5 separate regions of the Homo sapiens genome follow, and all the other regions are linked to region 1. The links are contacts of gene promoters, found by promoter capture Hi-C in blood cells and fetal thymus (Javierre and others, 2016). All regions are on one chromosome and are shown on one strand. The core of a region is centred on a gene start or on the middle of the fragment in contact, and the rest is flanking DNA. Distances in the headings are between cores, read along the strand shown.

Region 1 (2,643 bases), core at 48-2,547:
GCTGTCAGCGTCCTCACTTCTTCTGGAAGGCCAGGAGCAGCCTCGGGTCCAGGATGTTCTCCTCCGGCTCCCAGCTGTTATGTCTGCAAAGCAGAGGACAGGGCAGCATTAGACGCCAGGCTGATGATCACCGCTTTGCAAGGCAGCCCGAGGGGGCTCGCCCTCACCGCTCCTCGACTTGGGCCGATGGCAGTGGCACCGTAGCACCATGGCACTTCTCAAAGTCCAAACCCAGGTTTTGGAGGCTGGCCACCCCCCACCAAGCCAGCACTCTAACCTCAGACCCAAAGGGAAACTGCCGCTCCAACCCCCCAATTAAAACAAGGCCACAAGAGGACTCCCACAGTCTCTGCCTGGGAGAAAAACAAACCCCCATAAAACGCAAAGTTGCAGAGAGGGATTCCCCCAAACCCTGGCCCGGAGCCAGAGGAGGAAGGGAAGGCAGGTCCAGCATGCAGGGAGGGGCACAGGCGCCCAGCCCGAGATCCAGAACAATGTGGCGCGCGGGCCGGGGCACCTCGAGGGGTAGCGAAGAAAGAGCGGGGTCCGGGAAGACGCAGAAACGGGGCCGCGGGAGCAGCTGTGCAGAGAGCCCCTTCCGGGGATGCCAAACACCCTCCCTTCCATTAAAAGAAAGAAAAAAAAAAAGAAACTCTACATCCATCAATAGCAAGCTCAGGTTACAGCGGGGAGAATCTGGCCAAGAGGAGGGGGGCTTGCATCCCGCGCCTCCCTCCCGGCCGGGACGGGGGTTGGGGGGAGCGCGGCGCGGCAGCCGAGGAGGTTCTGGCGCGGGGGGCCGCCCAGCTCTGCACCCGCGGGCGTGTAAACAAAGGGCAACCTCGGGCCGGGCGGCCCCCGCCCCCCTCAGAGCCGGAGGAGCCCGCGGGGACCCCGCGAACTTCCCGCTCTGCCCGCGGGCGCCCCCAGGCCACCGGACGGCGCGGCCGAGGGGCTCCACGTCCCCACCCCCGGGCGAGGGGGCGGGAGGGGGGCGCGGCGTCGCGGGGGACTCACTTGGAGGACCAGCCGCGCCACTTGACCAGGTACTCCAGCTTGCCCTGCGGGGAGAGAAGAGGGGCCGTGAGCCAGACGGACAGCGGGCGGCGGGCGGGGGGCCCGGCGGGCCGCACGCACCTTGCGGAGCCGCTTGCTCAGGATGCACTCGGCGGCGAAGACCTGCTCGCCCACGCTGCTCAGCTCCTCCATGCTGCCCGGCAGCCAGCCCGACCGCGGCGCCCGCCGCCAGTCACCCGCCCGGACCGCCGCGCGCCCCGCCGGCAGCACACAAAGCACCGCCCCCGCCCGGCGCCGGCCCGCCCCGCGCACGCGCACCGCCGCTCCGCGCCCGCGCCCCGGCCCGCCGCCCGCCCCCGCGCGCTGCCCAAATCCCGTGCGGGCCAATCAGCGAGGGGGGGCGGGTGCGGGGCGGGGCGGGGCGCGCATTGTCCGCGGCGGGCTGGGCCTCGCGCTCCGGCGGGGGGTCCCGCGCGGGGCCCCGGGCGGGGGCGGGGGCGGGGGTGGGGGCGCGGGCGGGCCCCTGGCTGGGGGAGGAGGTGCCTAGGGACTTCGGGCCTGGGGCGCCCACCGAGTCCCGCGTGATTCCCGGGGCGCGCCCGCCCTTGCTCCCAACTCCGTTTTCCGGGCAAAAAGCCATTGTTCTGGCCCGAAGGGAGGGAAGCGGGACGGGGCGCGGCGGCTGCTTCCTGCCCCCGCCTTCGAGGGGCGCTGCTCCGGGGCACGCGGGGCCCCACCCTTCCCCCGGCTTCTTGAACTGGCTTTTCCTCGGCAGCGGGGGAGTCGCTCTGTTTTGGACGAGAGCAAAACGGGTCGGGGGCTGGGGAAGGAAAGGAAGACGAAGTCCGGGGGAGGGGCCCACAAACCCCAGCAGCCGAGGCTTTTTCCCCCAAAGGCGAGAGAGGAAAATGCTTTAACTTAAACCACCAAGCACTCTGAGAAAGAAGTAATACGAACTGCCCGGAGTTCTTATTAAACAGCTATGAAAAGTGGATCCAGCCCCCGAGTTTTAGGGCACGTGTAGGGAGAAAACCAGCTGCACCTTTTCTGAATTTGTTCCCCGATTTTGATGAAATGGAGGGGGAGGGGGCGGTTTGCAAGGCTGTTCCTAACTTCGGACTAGGTCAGTAGTGGCCCGCCAGGGCTGGGCAGCCGGCGTCCTTCGGATCAATTGTCCGCGGCAGAAAAGGGTCAGGCCATGTTATGAAAGTGGGGGTGACCCCTTGTCCTCCCTGTGATCGTCGTCAGCAGGCTACCCTTTTATTCCGGTGTTAAGATTCGAATTCCATGAAGAATCACCCTTTAAGTTATTTAGATTTTGAATCAGGACAAGTCAAACACGTAATGAAAGAGACCTGAGCCTTAGCTTCATTCGTCTCAACGCAGTCTAACTCCATGAAAATTCACTCTCTGCTTTTCTTGCTTCCTTGAACACAGCTGCAAAATTCTCTTTCTGTTGAGCAGATCCAAAAGTCGTTTCTTGTTGTAGGAGACTGTCTCAATGTAATTGTGATCATCAAAACCATATTTATAAAGGGTTCTGCAGGAGAAATGTGTTTTTTTGTTTTTACAGAAAGGCCTACTGGAGAAAATACTGAACTGTAGGAACCGATCTTTCAATTTATG
Region 2 (2,643 bases), core at 57-2,556, 240 kb before region 1:
TTTACAAATAAGGAGAATTGTTTTTAGAGAGCAAACAGTCCTGTCTAATGTTTAATAGACATGCTCCATTTCTCCAAAAAGAGCCCAGTCTCTCCAGAACAATCTGGGAGGGGCGGGGGGGGGTTGTCCTGGTGTCCCAGGTGGCGGGTGATGGAGGAGCCGGAGTTCTGCACGTGGGGGACGAAGGTCTCACGCTGCAGGGTTTCCCGCTCACGAAATGACCCTGAGTGGTCAGAACCTGTCTTCTCCTCCGTAAAGCTGCACTGTTGGGACGCACCTCGCAGAGCCACAGTGAGGTTCTGCCTGTCATGGTATGGGAGAAAATGCTGTATTTTGAACACTTGTATTTCGGAATCTCCTTTAAAGCTTCCAGCACATTCTTTTGATTATCCTCAGTGCTGGCAAAACATTTTCACTTAAAGAGGGTTTTGATTTGGGGAAGCAGCTGAGAGCTGTGTGCAGCCAGCTCTGGCAACTGGAGCGATCACACTGAGTAGAGCCATTTGAAACACAGAAGGAGGTGGGCTCCAGCCCCGCTGCGGCCTTGTCCAGTGTGGACACCGCGCAGGCTACAGAGCACCCAAAACGTGGCTGAGCAGAACTTTGACGTGCTTAAGTGCAAAATGCACAGCAGACTTTGGAGACTTTAAGGACATAAAATAGGCCAGGTGCGGTGGCTCCCGCCTGTAATCCTAACACTTTGGAAGGCTGAGGCAGGAGGATCACTTGAGGCCAGAAGTTCAAGACCAGCCTGGGCAAAAAAGTGAAACCTCATCTCTACAAAAAATAAAAAAATTAGCGGGACCTGGTGGCATGTGCCTTTAGTCCAGGCTATTTGGGAGACTGGGCAGGAGGATTCCTTGAGCCCAGGAGTTTCAGAATACAGTGAGCTGTGATCACACCACTGCACTCTAGCCTGGGTGACAACCTGTCTCTAAAAAAAAAAAAAGAATGTAAAAGATTTCATTAATAATTTTTTCAGGCTGGGCACGGTGGCTCACGCCTGTAATCCCAGCACTTTGGGAGGCCGAGGCAGGCGGATCACGAGGTCAGGAGATCGAGACCATCCTGGCTAACATGGTGAAACCCCATCTCTACTAAAAATACAAAAAAATTAGCCGGGCATGGTGGCGGGCGCCTGTAGTCCCAGCTACTCGGGAGGCTGAAGCAGGAGAATGGCGTGAACCTGGGAGGCGGAGCTTGCAGTGAGCCGAGATTGCACCGTTGCACTCCAGCCTGGGCTACAGAGTGAGACTCCGTCTCAAAAAATAAAAAAAAAATAAAGAAATAATGTTTTCATATTGACTATATGCTGAAATAATAATATTTTGGATATATTATGCTAAAAATTATTAAAATTAATTTCACTTTTTTTTTTTTTTTTGCTTACCAGAAAATTTAAAATTGTATCTATGTCTCCTGCAGTGTTTCTGTTGGACATGGCTGGTCTAGAGGACGGCGAGCAATTTTCTTGCAGGGCTTATTAACTGACCTTGCAATTCTTGAAGAATTCTTGAATTCTTAAACTATTCTGGATAACATTAGAACAGAACATAGCTTTTCCATGTGATTATTGGGAAGGACAATATGTTTTTTGATTTGTAGTTTGCAGTGTGATTTTTTTAATTAAGTTTCGTCACTTGGTTGTCATATGCCCCTGTGTGGGATGAAGTGTTTAGGCCAAGAGTGGCCAGAAGGCTTCCTGGAGAGGTTGGCAGAGAGCTGGTTTGGATAGGTGGAGAAGAATCCCCTGGATTTGGTCAGATGGTCTATGCCAGGGCACTGCCATCTGCAACCCACAGGCCAAAGCCAGCCTTCCACCTGTTTTGTACAGCCTGTGAGCTAAGGATGGTTTTTACTTTTTTTTTTTTTTTTTTTTTTTGAGATGGAGTCTTGCTCTGTCGCCCAGGCTGGAGTGCAATGGAGCGATCTAGGCTCACCACAACCTCTGCCCCCTGGGTTCAAGCGATTCTCCCGCTTGAGCCTCCCGAGTAGCTGGGATCACAGGCATGCACCATCACGCCCGGCTAATTTTGTATTTTTAGTAGAGATGGAATTTCTCCATGTTGGTCAGGCTGGTGTCGAGCTCCCGACCTCAGGTGATCCGCCCACCTAGGCCTCCCAAAGTACCAAGATTACAGGCGTGAGCCACCGCGCCTGGCCGGTTTTTACGTTTTTTAAGGGGGTTGAAAAATGGAAAGAATTCTTTTTGAGACACGTGAAAAATGATCTAGAATTTAAGCTTGAGTGTCTGTCAGTAAAGCTTCACTGTCACAGTCATGCCCATCATTTACTGTCTGTGGCTGCTCCTGCACTCCAAGGGCCGAGTTGAGTGGTCACGACAGAGACTCTCCGGCCCAGAGAGTCCAAAGCATTTACTCTCTGGCCTTTTGCAGAACAAGTTTGCTGACCCCTGCACCAAGGGGTCGACTTTCTTCTGCAGCCTTCATTGGACATGTTGAGGGAGCCTAAAAAGGGGTGGGCTAGGGAGAGCTGAGTGGATGAGGGCCCTGGAGACGGTTGAGATCAGGCAGAGGGCGTCTGTGGCTCAAGGCTGAGGAGGTGAGGATCTGAGCTGGGTCCCCACCCCCAGAACTGGTGATTTTCACAAGTGATGTTGACGTCGGGATCTCTGAGATGGGG
Region 3 (2,643 bases), core at 80-2,579, 210 kb before region 1:
GAGCCGGCCCCTCGCTGGCTGGGCGCCCGAGACCCGTCACCGCACACGCCTTGTGAGGGCTACGGCTGCTGTCCACGCGGCTAGTTCAGGCTGAGTTGAAGCCTCCGTCCGAGCAGCTGAAAGTCAAATCTAGTCGTTAGACTCTGAAAGCTGGTTCATGTCAGAGACCTGACATGGAGTGTGGGAAAACCTTGACGGAAGCTTCCAGAGCCTGGCAAGATTAGATCAGGAAGTAACACTTTACCTAGTGAGCTTAGAAAAATAGACTCTCCCTGTTGTCTTCTGGGAACTGGGAAATCTGAGCGCAGGTTTCTGGGCATGGATGCTGCACACAGGCCTGCCCCTGGGGGTGGGCAGCAACACCCCAGCCACCCCAGGAGGGTGGGGACCCCTCGGCTGACTTTTGGGAATCCAGAGGGGGTCATTACAGAAGGGCTGGCGCTAGAGTGGCCATGAGGGTACAGTGGGTCCCTCTCCGCACCCCTTGACCCCAGTCATCTTTTCAATACCGTTCTCTGGTGGGACTTGCGAGGGCCGATGCTGAGGCTGCTCTGCTTGTGCAGAGAGGACATTCGTGTATTTGAGGATGTTCGTGTATTTGAACAAAGGTTGTAGTGTCTTGGCCTCTCGGCCTTTGGCATTGCCAGGTATCTGGGCAGAACCAGCTAGAGCTGCTGGAGAATACATGAGCAGTATCTAGAACAATTCCGAACTCCACAAGGCCAGTTTGCCATGCCAGACTGTTGGGAAGAGGCAACGACAACTCGTATTTATGACTCTGTCCATGGCAGGCAAAGCGAACCGTGGCTTTTCATCCTGGAAATACCCCAGCACAGTGTTTTTGTGGGAGCCTGTTACTCAAAGCAGGCACAGAGTGGAAAAGGGCCCGATCAAGGCCACAGTGTGGGAGCTGTCAGAGCAGGGCAGGCCCGAGGCCCAGGGCTCTGCTGAACCAACCACCAGTGAGAGGGGCTTTGATGCGTCCAGTGATAAAACCCGTCGGGCAGGTCCTGGGAGGGATTCTGGCTTTGGGGACTTTGCTGTGCTTAAGTCATGGGCAAAAGTTCCTGCGCTGGCCAATTTTGTTTTCATCGAATGTGGGGATCCCTGTTCAGGGGGCACACGGTGCTGCATTTGAGGGTCTTGAGTGGTCCTCCACATTTGGGGTGTCCTTTGGGCCATGTGGAGCCCTGAGAAGGATTGACAGGTGTTTGGGAGTTTGTGTTTGTATCTTGGACGATGGAGGAGTTTCCCTAATCATGGTGTTTTTTCAAGTTAAGAAACTTCCTTTGGAGAAGCCGTTTTCTCTTTTACTGATGAAAGGCTTCTTCTCGGCAGGAGGACTGAAGGTGCTGGGTCCTGAGGGAGGGCCTGGGGCCGGCGGGCAGGTGCGGGTTGGGGAGGGTGGCACCGTCCAGCCCAGCAGAGCCCAGAAGACGGGACCAGGCTGAGGACTTCCACGGGGCTGGCCGGGCTACACAGCACCATGCTTAGCGGGATTGGACTTTGATTTTCTGTGGCTCTAACTGATAAAACAAGCAGGGGCCTTCTAAGTTTTGCTTTGAGGTTGACTGCCAATTAAAGAGCCAACATCTGGTGCATAGGACCCTCCAGAAAAAGTCTTTTTGCCCTTAATGTTAATTTTTTCCCCTTTGTTGGAGTTGATTTGTTAAGTTGCTGGTGTGTGTTGACAACTGTTTGGTACAGAACGCAGGCACGTGCGTTCACCAGGACCCTGGCTTGCCGAGCGGGAGGTGGTCGACTGTGGACTCTGGGCGCGTTTGACTTTCAGCCATGGTCTTATGATTGGGCAGCTTCCGTCCGGTTGCTGCCCCCTCTGCCCCTTGGGCATACGCCCAGTGGAGCTTGGACCTGACTCATAGCTCTCTACAGTCGACAAAAGGAAAATGTTTCAGTTTGGGTAAATCAGCCACAGCTGGAGCCAGGGAGAGGCCCATGGGCTGGTGACTTTTCAGGGTGGTGGTGTTTGTTCAGCGTGTTGTTTTGCTCTGTGACTTTGGAGAGTGCATCAAAGGCTCGGCGGACGCCCACTTGCCGAGGAGCCACGGCCCTGGCTGGTGGCCAGGCAAGCACCTCCCAGGTAGGCGTCAGGGGAAGCATCCAAACTAGTAAATAAAACGGCTTCTGGCAGGACGTGCTATCATCCCCCTCTCCCTTCTAAACACACACACGCTTTCACAGAGAAGAACTTAGAAGTATTTCGTTTGAATCAGAAGGAAATATTGAATATCGTCTCATTCTCCCCCACCTAATTTTTTTTTTAAACCACATTCAGAATTGCTGGGCAACCTCATTTCCCCACATTTAGGATTCTTCCCTCGAAATCTCATGCAGGCGTAAAATCCGAGAGCCTCGGAGGGTTTTTCTGAGCCTCTGCATCTCCCAGCACCCCGCCCCCACCCAGCACTCATGTGTTTGTCTGCTTTAAAAGCTTCAGGATGGGAAATTCCTCACCAGCCCGTAAGCCGCTGTTTGTAGGAGCCCCTAAACTCTGTGGAACCCAAATCTCCCAGTACTGACTTAATTCCCTTTTCCCTGAGAACCAGCTCCCTGCAGCACCCAGGGTTCTGCCCGCAGAGGGAGGCTGTGGCTGGGAGTGGAAAATGCCCAGCCAGGGGCTAC
Region 4 (2,643 bases), core at 91-2,590, 190 kb before region 1:
CTCTGTTGCCCAGGCTGGAATGTAGCAGGACGATCTCGGCTCACTGCAACCTCTGCCTCCCAGGTTCAAGTGATTCTCCCGCTTCAGCCTCCTGAGCAGCTGGGATTACAGGTAGGCACCACCATGCCTGGCTAATTTTTTGTATTTTAGTAGAGACGGGGTTTCATCATGTTACCCAGGCTGGTCCCGAACTCCTAAGCTCAGGCGATCCACTCCTGCCTCGGCCTTCCAAAGTACTAGAATTACAGGTGTGAGCCACCGCACCCAGCCTTAATCATTTGTAAGTGCACAGTTGAGTGGCAGTGGGTATATTCACATTGTTATGCAGCCATCACCATACTCTCCACCTCCAGAACTTTTTCATCTTCCCAACCGAAACTCTGTTCCCGTTAAACAACTCCCCATCTCCTCTCCCCCAAGCCCCTGGCAGCCTCTATTCTACTTTCTGCCTCTGAGATTGACTGCTCTGGGGACCTGATAGGAGTGGAATCATGCAGGGTTTGACCTTCTGTGTCTGGCGTCTTTCACTTAGCGTAACGTCAGGTGTCATTCATGCTGTAGCCTGTGTCAGAATCTCCTTCCTTTTTAGCAGGGCGCAGTGGCTCACACCTGCAATCCCAGCACTTTTTTTTTGGGAGGCCAAGGCGGGTGGACCACGAGGTCAGGAGTTCGAGACCAGCGTGGCCAACATGGTGAAACCCTGTCTCTACTAAAAATACAAAAATTAGCCAGGTGTGGTAGTACACGCCTGTGATCCCAGCTACTCAGGAGGCTGAAGCAGGAGAATCGCTTGAATCCGGGAGGCGGAGGTTGCAGTGAGCCAAGATTGAGCCACTGCACTCCAGCCTGGGTGACAAAGCAAGACTCCCTCTCAGGGGGAAGAAAAAAAAAGAATTTCCTTCCTTTTTATAGCTAAATAACCTGCCATTGCATGCAGGGACAACACTTTCTTTCTCCATTCACCCATCGATGGACACTGGGCTGCTTCAGCCTCTGGCCATCATGAATGATGCTGCTGTGAACACGGGGTACACATACCTGTTCGAGTCCCTGCTTTCAGTTCTTTTGAGCGACCCTTTTTAAAAATCAATGCCAGGGCCGTTTTCAGAGCACTCCGACCTGTCCTCCGCAGACCTTCCTTGTCCCTGCACCCACTCAGGCTCTTTCTTCCCCACAAAGACCCCCACAGCCAGCCCCCATGCCACCTGCTCCGAGAGGAAGCCTTCCAGAGCCCCCATCCCTACCCCGTGGGATGCTCCTGTCTGACACCTCCCAGCAGCTCACAGTCCAAGTGGTGTCCAAATTATCCACATCCTCAGCTCACCTCCTATGAGGTCCATGTCTCCTGGTGGGTCGGGCACCAGCTTCCTCAGGTCTTCCTTGAGAGAAGTTGACTGTTGTAGAGAAGAGTGATTGACTCTACTTTTATGAGTCAAGTTGAAGAATACGTTAAAGACTCTTCTTTTCTAATTGCCCCTGAGCCATTATTCCAAAATGGTGTCTACCAGCAACATGGGAAGATACCTTCAAGTGTGTGTAAACCTGCAGAACGAACTTTGGAAGAAGAGTCACTCAACTGCTGACCAGGATGACCTGGGGGACAGGGCTTCCAGACCAGGATGACCTGGGGGACAGGCTTCCAATGCCGATTCTGCACACTTCAGTCTTTTTAAAATTTTTAACCACAACGTGAATTTATTTACCACTTGCAAATGTTAAGCAACTTAAAAAATACTGGGAGTGTGGGCCGGGTGCGGTGCCTCACACCTGTAATGCCAGCACTTTGGGAGGCCGAAGTGGGTGGATCACCTGAGGCCAGGAGTTTGAGACCAGCCTGGCCAACATGGTGAAACCCCATCTCTACTAAAAATACACAAATTAGCCGGGCTTGGTGGTGCACGCCTGTAATCCCAGCTACTCAGGAGGCTGAGGCAGGAGAATGCCTTGAACCCGAGAGGTGGAGGTTGCAGTGAGCCGAGATAGCGCCACTGCACTCCAGCCTGGGCAATGGAGACAGACTCCATCTCAAAAAAAAATAAAAAATAAAAATACAGGGAGTGTATATTAATGTAAAATTATTTACAATATGAGATCACTTCCATTCCCACACTGGGAGGAACGTAAAACTCAACAATGCAAGAGCAAACTGCATCTCTGTTTCCAGAGGGTGGCGCTGTTTTTGCACCGGGCTGACTCTCCGTTTCCAGGGTGGCGCTGTTTTTGCACTGGGACTCGTACAAGGACTGGTGCTTTCTCTGATGTGCTTAGCTTATTTCAGGCATGCATTTCCCCTGGGCTCTCTGCTAGCTCTTCACCTTTCTGCAGGCTTCACTGAGGACCCCCAGGTCCACCTCTCTAGAGTGGCCGTGCCCAGCCCCTCCACCTCCCACCCTGTGCTCATTCCCTTAGAGCACCCCATGACCCGTTTACCGTTTGCTGCCTGACTTCCCACCACAATGAAGCTCTACACAGGTGGCAACCTTGTCTCGTTGTCTGCAGGTTGAGAGGGTGGGGGACACCCAGAACTTTTTATTGCAGAACAAATATTTTCTGAGGCCATGCTTTGTACAAGACCCTTTGGTGGGAGATGTACAAGATAAATCAGACGGGAGAGAGCGGGTGCATAGTGACCTTTTATTCACA
Region 5 (2,643 bases), core at 51-2,550, 170 kb before region 1:
TGTCCCCTCCCGCTAGCAGCCAACTCCACTGGGACTCACTGTTTCCTGCTTCTGAGGTTGGCGACAGTGGCCTCTGATTATACTTGGAAATAAAACCCCCGTGTTTACATATTCATCGGGCTTCCCTCTCCCCCTTCCAATGGCCCTTCAGCGACGAGGCCTGCACCAGCGGCCAGCTGGTCGTTGCCAGCCGAGAGAGCCAGTACAAGGTTTTCCACTTCCACCACGGCGGCCTGGACAAGCTGTCTGACGTGTTCCAGCAGTGGAAATACTGCACCGAGATGCAGCTCAAAGACCAGGTAGCCCAGCAGACGGCCCCAGAATGCCCAGCGGTTGACACTCCCCACCCCCCACGGGCCCCATCTCCCTCCTGGGTCCTGTGTCTGGGGTCCCCGGGCCCCGGGGGCTTACGGGGTGTGACCCACGGTAGTTTTTGGCCGTCAGAGCAGCAACTTTGGGTTTGAAACCTTTGCCCAGGGCTTTCGGTAAAGTCAGTGCCCTGCACTTGAAAAATCATGTTTTGACAAGACTTCCTGCCATATTTTGCTCAATCTACGTACAAATGTAATAAGAGCTCTTTAATTATCTGTTTAAGGTACTGTATGTGCTTATTAGAAATGGGGCCGATTTTAAAATTCCCTTCCTTCCCGCAGAGCCTCCTGCTGGCTTCCCTTATTACAGTAGCATGGCTTTTTTTCCCCCTACATTGAACAACCTTTGATTTTTGAATTAAATGTCAGCTGCAGTTTTGCCCTGGATTCGTGACTGCTCGCGGAGGCAATCTGACAGGCTGGCTCCCTGCTCGCAGAACAGCGATCCCTTTGTATGTGGCCAATCACATGTAATTCATTGCAGGCCCTCCCGGCAGAGGGAAGTTAGGCCGAACGAGGCATTCATTCCGTTTTTGCGGCTGGGGTTGGAGAGAGTGGGGGGCGGCGGCACAGTGGGCCGGGGAGGAGAGAGCCGCAGAGGGAAACCGATTTTAAGATGAAGGTATTTTCATTTTAATTGCGCCTAATTACACTCGCCATTTAGGGGTTTGTATGCAGGGGACGGCCCTTGCCCTCCTTTCAGAAGAGAGAGAGGCTTTTATTCCTGGGAAAAGCACTGCTGGCCTCTGAAGCCGCGCGGCTGAGATCCTGACCTTTGCCCAGTTTTCCTCCCGTCCAGCAGGTCGCCCCCGATAAGACATGCATGCAGTTCTCCATCCGCCGCCCCAAGCTGCCGTCCTCCGAGACGCACCCCGAGGAGAGCATGTACAAGAGGCTCGGCGTCTCCGCCTGGCTCAACCACCTGAATGAGCTGGGCCAGGTGGAGGAGGAGTACAAGCTGCGGAAGGTGAGGTCCGGGTCCGCCCAGCTGGCCCCGCGGAGAGCCGGCCGGGAACCGGGAACGAGCGAGAGGGAAGGAGGGCCGGGGCCTGGCCGCCCGCCCGCACCCACGGGCCACCTCCTCGTGAGGGCCCCGTTTTCTTGTGTGAGGCTCTCTGTGAACACACCGATAAAGCAATCAAAGCTGCTGCGTTGAAAAAAAAAAACAAAACACAACACCTCCCTCGAGGGTTTGGGGGGATACCGTGTCAGCCTGCATAGAAGGGTTTGCAGTGAAATGCAGCATTTCCAAAACCAGGGATTAGGCCATGACGTGAGAACGACACGTTAATCTGAGCGCCACCCCAGGGGGGGCATTGACATTGAAATGAGCCGGGTTTGTGTCCTGTATGGGAATTGAAGGCCACTGCTTTCCCCTTGTAAATATGTGCAAATTGCAGAGATCTGAATCAAGGCGCACCAAAAACCACCAAAACACACATCTCTGGGGATTTGGGGGTTCTTTGAGCTGCCCCATTTTATCCCCTCCCCAACTTTTGCCGCTTCCTCCAGGCCATTTTCTTTGGCGGTATTGATGTGTCAATCCGCGGGGAGGTCTGGCCCTTCCTGCTGCGCTATTACAGCCACGAGTCCACGTCGGAGGAGCGGGAGGCGCTGCGGCTGCAGAAGCGAAAGGAGTACTCTGAGATCCAGCAGAAAAGGTAACCGCCGGGGCCAGCCCGGCCCACCCCGCCGAGCCGCGGAGGAAAATGTCATTTGAAAAGGCAATTTGAGGTGCAATTCAGCATTGATAATATGTTTCGTGACCCATAGTTTCTTTCAAAAATGGGTCTCCCAGGAACGTGAGTGATAGGGTGGGATAAGTGCAGTCATTAAACCAAGCACTCGGGCCTCGGAGCTGCGGGGCTCGTTAGCTCACATGTCAAGGTTTTAGAATTCTCGTTCAACAGACTTAACTAGGCGCTGACGTCCCACAGCTGAAGGCTGGGGCTGGGAGCAGGGCCTGGAGGGGTGAAGGCATCCGGAGACTGTGTCCCACTTGGGATCTGCTAACCCGGGACTGGGCTCAGCTCTCTCTCCAGGAGGCTGGGACTGGGTGAAGCCCCTGGGCTGTGCTCAGCTCCCCTCCAGAACGCTGGGCCAGGGCCAAGGCCTCATTACCCACTGGGCTGCAACTTGCTCTCCTTCCTGGGACGCTGGAGACTGTGAGGCTGAGTTAATATCAAGGAGAGCCTTGGATACACGCCACCCATCCGCCGCATCCGGGGAGGGTCTGCAGCCGGCAGCAGCCGCCCAGCTCCCGTCCAGGGAA

The links. The method cuts DNA at HindIII sites, captures the fragments that hold promoters and counts their contacts. A CHiCAGO score of 5 or more calls a contact.
Region 2: a contact is called between a fragment that was not itself captured here and the fragment with the promoter of CBX2 in region 1, in 1 of 17 cell types (neutrophils). The highest score is 5.3, in neutrophils.
Region 3: a fragment that was not itself captured here is called in contact with the fragment with the promoter of CBX2 in region 1 in 17 of 17 cell types (non-activated CD4 T cells, monocytes, M0 macrophages and 14 more); the score reaches 18.5 in non-activated CD4 T cells.
Region 4: a contact is called between a fragment that was not itself captured here and the fragment with the promoter of CBX2 in region 1, in 10 of 17 cell types (M2 macrophages, total CD8 T cells, monocytes and 7 more). The highest score is 7.9, in M2 macrophages.
Region 5: a fragment that was not itself captured here is called in contact with the fragment with the promoter of CBX2 in region 1 in 2 of 17 cell types (M1 macrophages and M0 macrophages); the score reaches 5.8 in M1 macrophages.

The regions. Positions count from the first base shown.
Region 1 is chr17:79,776,802-79,779,444 of GRCh38, reverse strand. It overlaps CBX2 (chromobox 2), which reads right to left and starts at 1,297. Exons shown (of 5, transcript NM_005189.3): 1 at 1,138-1,297; 2 at 1,018-1,061; 3 at 18-83. The coding sequence starts at 1,209. RefSeq lists an enhancer at 44-637 and silencers at 1,033-1,102, 1,113-1,492. The HindIII fragment of the contact is 13,003 bases long and covers 1-2,643 here.
Region 2 is chr17:80,016,920-80,019,562 of GRCh38, reverse strand. The region is part of intron 1 of TBC1D16 (TBC1 domain family member 16); the gene reads left to right. Among named protein-coding and RNA genes, the nearest start is that of TBC1D16, 18 kb to the left of the region's middle. The HindIII fragment of the contact is 1,876 bases long and covers 369-2,244 here.
Region 3 is chr17:79,987,653-79,990,295 of GRCh38, reverse strand. All of the region lies in intron 3 of TBC1D16 (TBC1 domain family member 16), which reads left to right. Among named protein-coding and RNA genes, the nearest start is that of TBC1D16, 47 kb to the left of the region's middle. RefSeq lists an enhancer at 1,578-2,449. The HindIII fragment of the contact is 2,251 bases long and covers 204-2,454 here.
Region 4 is chr17:79,970,425-79,973,067 of GRCh38, reverse strand. The region is part of intron 3 of TBC1D16 (TBC1 domain family member 16); the gene reads left to right. Among named protein-coding and RNA genes, the nearest start is that of LINC01979, 45 kb to the right of the region's middle. The HindIII fragment of the contact is 7,540 bases long and covers 1-2,643 here.
Region 5 is chr17:79,949,106-79,951,748 of GRCh38, reverse strand. It overlaps TBC1D16 (TBC1 domain family member 16), which reads left to right. Exons shown (of 12, transcript NM_019020.4): 5 at 152-299; 6 at 1,171-1,338; 7 at 1,884-2,032. Among named protein-coding and RNA genes, the nearest start is that of LINC01979, 24 kb to the right of the region's middle. RefSeq lists enhancers at 1-261, 262-845, 1,430-2,013, 2,014-2,597, 2,598-2,643. The HindIII fragment of the contact is 4,940 bases long and covers 1-2,643 here.